Regions from separate parts of the Homo sapiens genome. Here region 2 is linked to region 1. The links are contacts of gene promoters, found by promoter capture Hi-C in blood cells and fetal thymus (Javierre and others, 2016). All regions are on one chromosome and are shown on one strand. The core of a region is centred on a gene start or on the middle of the fragment in contact, and the rest is flanking DNA. Distances in the headings are between cores, read along the strand shown. Region 1 holds the start of ALG1 (ALG1 chitobiosyldiphosphodolichol beta-mannosyltransferase). Region 2 overlaps METTL22 (methyltransferase 22, Kin17 lysine).

Evidence for each region. The method cuts DNA at HindIII sites, captures the fragments that hold promoters and counts their contacts. A CHiCAGO score of 5 or more calls a contact.
Region 2: a contact is called between a fragment that was not itself captured here and the fragment with the promoter of ALG1 in region 1, in 1 of 17 cell types (M1 macrophages). The highest score is 7.6, in M1 macrophages.

The regions. Positions count from the first base shown.
Region 1 is chr16:5,068,905-5,073,096 of GRCh38, forward strand. ALG1 (ALG1 chitobiosyldiphosphodolichol beta-mannosyltransferase) reads left to right here and starts at 2,939. Exons shown (of 13, transcript NM_019109.5): 1 at 2,939-3,153; 2 at 4,047-4,124. The coding sequence starts at 2,946. RefSeq lists enhancers at 2,969-3,028, 3,059-3,168, 3,339-3,398. The HindIII fragment of the contact is 10,202 bases long and covers 904-4,192 here.
Region 2 is chr16:8,629,299-8,633,490 of GRCh38, forward strand. The region is part of intron 3 of METTL22 (methyltransferase 22, Kin17 lysine); the gene reads left to right. Among named protein-coding and RNA genes, the nearest start is that of METTL22, 9.7 kb to the left of the region's middle. The HindIII fragment of the contact is 4,270 bases long and covers 1-3,719 here.

The DNA.
Region 1 (4,192 bases), core at 1,689-4,188:
GAGGCAGGAGAATCACTTGAACCTGGGAGGTGGAGGTTGCAGTGAGCCGAGACGGCACCCCTGCACTCCAGCCTGGACGACAGAGTGAGACTCCATCTCAAAACAAACAAACAAACAAGCAAACAAGGAGACACCTGGGAAACCTCGGGTGGGAGGCTGTGGGAGCTGTGGACAGACCGCATTCTGTTCATCACTCATCCACTGATGAGCCTCTGGATTGTTTCCATGATTTGATTCTTGTGGACAGTACTGATGTTTGTTTACAAGTTTTTGTTCGAAAACCTGTTTTTCATTCTCCTGGGTGTATACGTGGGAATGCCATTGCTGTGTCACGTGATAATTCTATGTTGAACCTAATGAGGGACCATACGACTGTTTTCCACAGTGGCTGGGCCATTTACGTGCCCACTGGCAGAAGATGAGGGTTCCTTATGTACTGCCCCATGAAATTTTATTTTACTTGTTTATTTTTTTGAGACAGGGTCTCGCTTTGTCACTTAGGCTGGAGTGCAGTGGTATGATCATGGTTCACTGCAGCCTCGACCTCCCTGGGCTCAGGTGATCTTCCCACCTCAGTCTCCCGAGTAGCTGGGACTATAGGCACACGCCACCACCATTTTTTGGGTATTCTTTGTAGAGATGGGGTTTCACTATGGTGCCCAGGCTGGTCTTGAACTCCTGGGCTCAAGTGATCCTTCCGCCTCAGCGTCCCAAAGTGCTGGGATTACAGGCATGAGCCACTGCTTTCAGCCTTCATAAAATTTTAATACTGCAGATATACTGCATGCTTGTGTATTGTATCATTATCTGTGCTTTATACATAAAAAGGGTAAGGATGTTTTGCTCCCCAAGAGCCATTTTTGCCCCCTTGGGAGCACCACTGGGAACAGAGGTTCTAGGGGAAGCTTGTCATTGTCATTACTTCTGTTAATCCTTGATCACCCCTCAAGTGGGTGCTCAGTCAACTTGAACAAAATCTGAGGCTCCAAGGGAGATTGAGTGACTTATCCATATATCCTCTTGATTGTTGGAAAGACTGGATCTCATGTGGAATGGATGCCAAGTGAGAAAGCCGGACAGGTGGGCTGGCCCAGCTATGAAACCGCCCCCCTGCTGGGGATGGCTCCGTCCCCTCTCTCCAGGAGACACCACGGCAACTCCCTCCCCGACGGAGGTTCACCTACCAGAGGGAGGCATCTACTTTTGGTTTGTCATCACCATAGTCTTTATCCTCTTAGCTCATCAGAGCAGGACAGGCTCTCAAAGACTTGAAGTTCCCCTCCCTTAATTCACAGACGAAGAAAGCAAATTGATGGGGAGTGACTCGCCCGAGGTGGAGCAGGAAAGCCAGGAGTCCTGAGGCTGAGGTCCCAGATCCCTACCTGTCCCATTACAGAGCGTCGACAGAGTTGGGCAGGCGATGTGTCACAGGCCTCCACCCCAGCACACGCAACCTGGAGGCAGGGGCCTCGCTGGGAACTGGAGGATAAATGCCGCTGCCAGCATGTTTGTATGCCCATCCCTGCTGTCTGCAGATACTTACTCGTCCTTCCTTTCCTTCTGAAAGCTCGGGTTTCAAGGTCTGGCTTAAGGCGTGAGCTGTCCCTTCTGAATCCATAGAAAGGGAGTGATGGGGCAATTGTGAAAAGCAGATGCAAAGTGTGCCAAGCCCTGAGCTGAGCCCAGGGACACTGGGGAGCCACATCCATGTGGGCTACCCTGTCCCGTGGGTGCTGCCTGTGGTCCTCATCAGGGGAGGAGTCTTGTTTGTTTGTTGAATACGGTCTGGGTGGTGGCTCTCCAGGTTCTGCGGCAGCTCCCAAGTGGAGGCAATGGGGTAGCATCACCAGTGAGCTCTTGGTGTTTCTCTGCAAGGGACCGCTTTCAAAGAAAAAAGGTCATGATACGGTTTGGCTGTGTCCCCACCCAAATCTCATCTTGAATTCCCATGTGTTGTGTGGAAGGGACCCAGTGGGAGGTAACTGAATCATGGGGTCAGGTGTTTCCCGTGCCGTTCTCGTGATAGTGAATAAGCCTCACGAGACCTGATTGTTTTATAAAAAGGAGTTTTCCTGCAGAAGCTCTCTTTTTGCCTGCTGCCATCTATGTAAGAGGTGACTTGCTCCTCCTTGCCTTCTGCCATGATGGTGAGGCCTTCCCAGCCATGTGGACCTGTAAGTCCATGAAACCTCTTTCTTATGTAAAGTGCTCAGTCTCGGGTATGTCTTTATCAGCAGCATGAAAACGGACTAATACAGGCCATCGCAGAGACACACATTAAACTCTCACTATGGCTACTTTGGGAGGTGAAATTGGAGGGTCACTGTGGAAATTTCCTTTCTAGCCATTGATACTTAAGCAAAATCATGATGGTGTTTACTTCCTTGTTTGTCCTTCCCCCTCTCTACCTTTTAAATGTTTTATTAAGTGTGATGTACACCCTGGAAAATGGGCAGGTAATCTGCTGCTTGAGGTACCGCCCCAAATGCAGCACACCCACATTACCAGCACCAGATCCAGAAGCAGAACCCACCAGCCCCTAACTTCTAACAGCGAGGACTGGTTTTTATTTACATAGACGGAACTCTACAATTCGTACTCGTCAGCATCTGGCTCCTTTATCAATGTTAGGATGAAATTTATCCAAATTCTTGTGTCACTATATTTTGAAATTATCTTTGAATCCTGAAGAGAGTTCTTAGATCCCAATACAGTAACAGCTTTACTTTAGTCGGGGAAATACACTGGTGTGTAGGGAATCTGGTGTATGTGCGTGTGTCCTACTACTACTAATTCTTGGCCCCGAGGGGCTCCTGGGGGTTCCCCGGGCCCCTGTTAGGGAACCGCGTCCACTTCTCGCCCTCTCGGCCCACTTCGGAGGCTCGGTCTGCGGCTGCGCACAGCGCGAGGAAGCGCGGTCACGTGACTGCTGCGGGCCAGCCAAGATGGCGGCCTCATGCTTGGTCCTGCTGGCGCTGTGTCTGCTGCTGCCGCTGCTGCTGCTGGGAGGATGGAAGCGCTGGCGCCGGGGGCGGGCGGCCCGGCATGTAGTAGCGGTGGTGCTGGGCGACGTGGGCCGCAGCCCCCGTATGCAGTACCACGCGCTGTCGTTGGCCATGCACGGCTTCTCGGTGACCCTCCTGGGGTTCTGCAGTGAGTGGCCAAGGGTCTGGGAGGGACGATGCTCTCTCAGCCGTTGATCCTCGGTTCTAACCGCCCCGGGGAGTCGAGGCGGAAGTGCTCCTTTAGTCGCCGCCTTTGGGCAGCTCTCCGAGATTAGACGAGCGGTTCTGCCCCAGCCTTTCCTGGGTGGGTCTCTAGGTATAGCCGGCGTTAATCTTGCCACGTGTCAGAAGTGTGTTAAGTGAATCCATTGCGTGGTCTCACGTAATTCTCCTAGTAAGTGGAACCCAGGTGCGTGGAACTCCAGGGCTAGTGCTGGTAGCTACGTCCCTGTGCAGCTACCCTTGTCAGGCTATGTCTGAGCTGACAGGATATTTCATTCCTCATCCCTCAACGCAGAGCTCTGCAGACAGATGTTTTCATTTGTTCTTCATGTCCAGCTTTTCCCCACAGTGTGCAGGGCAGCGGTGTCTGCTCCCTCATTATTCTCCACGTTGGTATCTTGAGAGGGTAGCTCAACCCCATCTCAGGAAGAAGTGGGAACAGCACTAGTTGCCTTTAATCCCTGTTTAGAATCTGCTATCCTAGGGTGATGGGGTAGAGTGGGACTTCCTAGGGATGGCTCTGTGGTGGGAAAATTCCACTATCCAGACAATCTAGATTAGTTTAATTGAGCACCTACTGTTTGCCAGGCATCATGTTAAGTGAAGGTAGGTAAGATTCAGGCCCTATCTCTGTGTGCCTCCTAGAGCAATCTGAACAAGAATTGGCCGCATTCTCTGTTCTGGCTAGTGAGGAGCAGAGAGAGGTTTTGAAATATCTTACTTTCCAAAACACTGTCCGTGATTCAGCCTGAGTTGGGAGATTATCTGACTTTAGATTGCTGCTTCTGGTACATTAAAGGGATCATTCTCATTTTTCAGACTCCAAACCCCATGATGAGCTCTTGCAGAACAACAGAATTCAGATTGTGGGGTTGACAGAACTTCAGAGTCTTGCAGGTAGGATGCCGTCAACTCCAGAATCCTCTGAATCCATGGGCTGGGGGCAGGGGGTGTTCGTTTGAAAA
Region 2 (4,192 bases), core at 335-2,834, 3.6 Mb after region 1:
CTCACCCTGTGCGCTTTCTTCTCTGTGCTGTGCCTCCTTGCTGGAGTGCTTGCTCCCAGCCTCTGCTCCCTTAACATGTTCCCCATTGCCGTACAGTTTCCAGCTCAGCCACACCTCCTCCAGGAAGCCTCCCTGCTGCTGCCTCCCACATCTGTGCTCTTGCTCTAACTCAGCGTGTTGGGGGTGTGGGACAGGCTTGGCCTGGCTGGGCTGGCAGTAGGGAGCCATGGGAGGTTCTGGAGCTGGAGTGTGGCAGAGGGAGAGGGATGTAAATGAAAATGAATGGGGCGTGGACCAGTCAGATGGACTGGGAGCTGGGAGCTAGAAGCCAGGTAAGAAAGGGGAGTGATGAAGTGGCGGGAAAAGTGGGACAGGAGAGAGGTTTGGACAGATACTCAGAGGTGGGATCAAAGAGGAACTGCTACCCAGGTATGGGGGCAGAGCAGAGGGGTTTGCTGACTCTAGGATTTGAAATCTAGGGACCTGGCACTCTAGAAACACCGGGAGCAGTAGGGAGCTGGGCCAGGAAGTGATCGGTCCTGGTTAAGCACCTATCGTGTTTTGGATATCTTCACTAGTATCGAGTGGCCTAGTCTGCACAACCCCTCCTGAGGGGGTGCATGGATGAGGAAGTGAAAGGCCTAGCGCCATGCTGCTTGGTGGTGGTGAGCGAGCTTCGAATCCACACAGTGTCCACACCAGGGCTTTGCCTCCCCCTGGCGCTGCTCATTTGGGGAGCGGAGCTGTGATTTGAGGCCGTTCATTGAGATCCAGGGTCCCCGATGGTGTCTTGAGTTCCCAGGGAAAGGCCTCCCCCAGCACTGGCCTTTGGTCAGAGAATGGGGGTCAGTGGGTCACTCTCAAAAACAGACAAAACAGCAGCTCTGTATCTATCTGCTCAGCAAACAGTTACTAAGCGCCTCCACGGTGGTACCAAGCAGCCTCTGTTCTAGACTGTCCCAGAGAGGGCAACGTGGAACTCATACCAGAACCCAGTTCCATGTATCCCATGGGTGACCTCTGCCCTCATGGCCTCTGCAGATAGGGATGAGTATTCCCATTTCACAGAGGAAGAGACTGAGGCTCAGCGAGGTTGAGGAACTTGCTGGGGTCACACAGCTAGTCAGTGGCAGAGCTGAGACTTGTACCTAGGTCTGTCTGACGCCACAGCCTGTGCTGTCATTCCACATCATGGGGGCAGAGCTTTCGAAAGAGGCTTGGAAAGTCCTGCTTCTCAGGGGGGCCGACGATGGCTCATTTCCCTCTGAGCCCTCACTGTTATTAGCCTCCCCAAGCTGGGGAGCAAACCTGTCAGTTACTCCACAGTGAATTGTTGTGTCTGTAGTGAATGTTCTGGGAATTTACCATTGTATGAGCTAAGAACAAAGTCCCTCGGGAAGAGGCTGGCCTGTGACCAGCTTCCCCTCCTGCCCTGTTCCGGTGACCTCACGGTGAGGCCCCCTTGTCTGTATACCTGGAAGTTCACTTTTTCAGCTGTCAGTCACTCACTACCTGCCCTGACGGAGGAGAGTGGAATGGTAGCTAATGCATGAACCTAGGTAGTAATTCGTGATTATTTCAAACTGGCTAGAGCACTTTCATCTGCAAAACTTGATCTAATCCTGCAGGGCTGGATTTTGAGCCCAGCTCCATCTTCACAAGCCAGGTGACCAGAGACAAATGTCTTACCCACTCAGAACCACATGGTCAGAACCACGTGATCAGGGGAACCACTGTCCCTGGGTTTTAGTGATAATTTATTGAAACATGCCCAGTGAGCGCCAGGAGCAGGGCCTGGCGCAGAGTTGATGGTAAGCAGACGTCATTCGCCTCACAACCCTTTTCCTCTGACCCGTAAATCAACCCATTTTTTTCAAGTTATAGACCCATTTGAGAAACTGGTTTTTCTAAAGAAAAAGAAAAATAGGTGTTTTCTTAACTATTCCAAGGGATTGACAAAACCTTAAAAAGTTTATCCAGGGATCTGCCAGGAATCCACAGACCCAGGATTCAAAAGAAATTATGTTCAATTCCCCCACTGTAGAAATAAAGTGAGACCCCAAGAGAACTCGAGAAAGGCAGGGCTGGAACTCAGGCCGTCAGATTCTGAGTCCCGTGCCTTCCTGCTGGAGAATCGGGCAAGTCGCTTAGCCTCTCTGAGTTCAGTTTCCTTGTCTGTACAAGGGGTACAACCTCCTCCAGTTGTAAGGAATTCAGAGAGACAGCACATACAAAGCTCTTAGCGTAATGCCTGGCACGGATTCAGTGTTCCGTAAATGTAAGCCTCTGTCCTGGGGACTGGCCCAAGCTGGGAGGAGGGAGACTGGCTGACGAACAGTCTAGGTTCCTGCAGGTCTAGAGACCCAGTTTGCAAATGAGATAAGACGTAATTCTAGAATCTGATAAGGACAGGTGAGATTCTAACACTGTCTCATCCCATTGCTAGCCCTAGAGTTTCTCATGGGGATAGTTCCTCAGGCTGGTCTTTTATGTTCTCATGATACCTTTGGGATTATTTAAATATAAACTCTGACTTTTCACAGGAGTGGGAGCCCCAAGATGGCCCTGGGTAGGGAGGTCCCTAAGTCACCTGGGCCTCCACCCCTAGACTGAATCCTTCTTCCTCACCCCTATGCAGCCACCTGGACCGCGCCCGGCCCAGGGCTGACATACTGGGCATTTGTTGTGATCTCTGACTATCCTGATGAGTCATGAAGAAGCATATTTACCCATTCGAACACTAGCAAGTGCCTGAAACGGGGCAGGGGTCGGGTAGACCTCGGAATCTCTGCACTCCGGAGTCGAGGATGTCAGACACAAGAAAGGAGAGTGCCCTTAAGGTCGGCCACACTCAGCTTCCTGGGGAATTCATTCTGGCTTTTTCCATCTGGCCCCAGGGAGTTGCACAGCATCCGCTTCTTCCTTTGATCCATCCCTGAGCCTCTTGTTCTCTCCCTTATCAATTCGCCCTGGTGTTTTCTCGTGTTATCAGCATCAGCAGAAAGCACATCTTAGATCAGTTCTTGGTCAGACTCCCAAATGACTTCATTTTAAATCCTCTTTTGTTTCTATTTGGCTTTAGAAAAATATGGGTCTCACTTTGCACTTCGTTACCCAGGCTGGTCTCAAACTCCTGGCTTCAGGCGATCCTCCTGCTTTAGCCTTCCAAAGTGCTGGGATTATAGGTGTGAGCCACTACCCGGCCATCTCGACACATTTTGATCTAATTAGATGTTTTTTTCTCAGACTATGACCCTGGGCTGGTCATGTCCCCCTTCTGGGCTTCAGTGATCTCCACCTGTGCAAGGGCTGGGGTCCTTGACCACCTCAATGGTTCTCAGATGTCTGCCGAGCCTGTGCTCTCTCAGAAGCGCTGTCTGGTTAAACACTGTTACAGCCTTAGAAATGAGGGATGAGGCTACTTCTGCATTTTGCAAAAGAGGAAACTGTAGCTCTGTCTCCAAGAAGTTAAGTGACTTGTCACCCAGCTAGGAAATGACAAAACTGGGTTGTCATACAGGTCTCTGACCTCAGAGTCCTCATTCTCCCTCAAGGGAAGCTAGCCACCCATTGAGGACAGCTGGGAGGCAGAACTTACGTCCACGAGACCCCTGGAAGGAAGTGACCAATCACATAGGACCAAGATCACTATGAGAAGGTTCCCCTGGCAGCAGGAACCCTTAGGACAGCTGGGGTTAGGGAGCAGATGGCAAGGAGGAAGCTTTCCCAGGCCAATGGAGGGAGAGGAGAGGAGAGGAGGCTACGAGCCACACCCAGGAGATGGCATGGGTGGGACTGGGGAAGAGGAACTGGGCAGGGACGCTGACACAGAGGGCCTGGGGTCTGTAGACCACAGACACCCCTTCCCCTCCACGCACAAGCACACAAGCCTTCAGCCTGCCCAGCGAGTCCCTGTCCCTTTCATCCTGGGAGGCTCTGCCCCAGGCTTTTTAAACCGTGTCCCTGGCATGGTTCAGATTCTACATCTCCCTTCCCCAAGCAGGCTGAAGAGCTAGAAAAGGCCGGGCACGGTGGCTCACACCTATGATCCCACTTTGGGAGGCCAAAGCAGTGTATCACTTGAGCCCAAGGGTTTGAAACCAGCCCTGGCAACATGCTGAGACCCTATCTCTACAAAAACTACAAAACTAAAAAAATTTAGCCTGGCATGGAGGCATGCACCTGTAGCCCC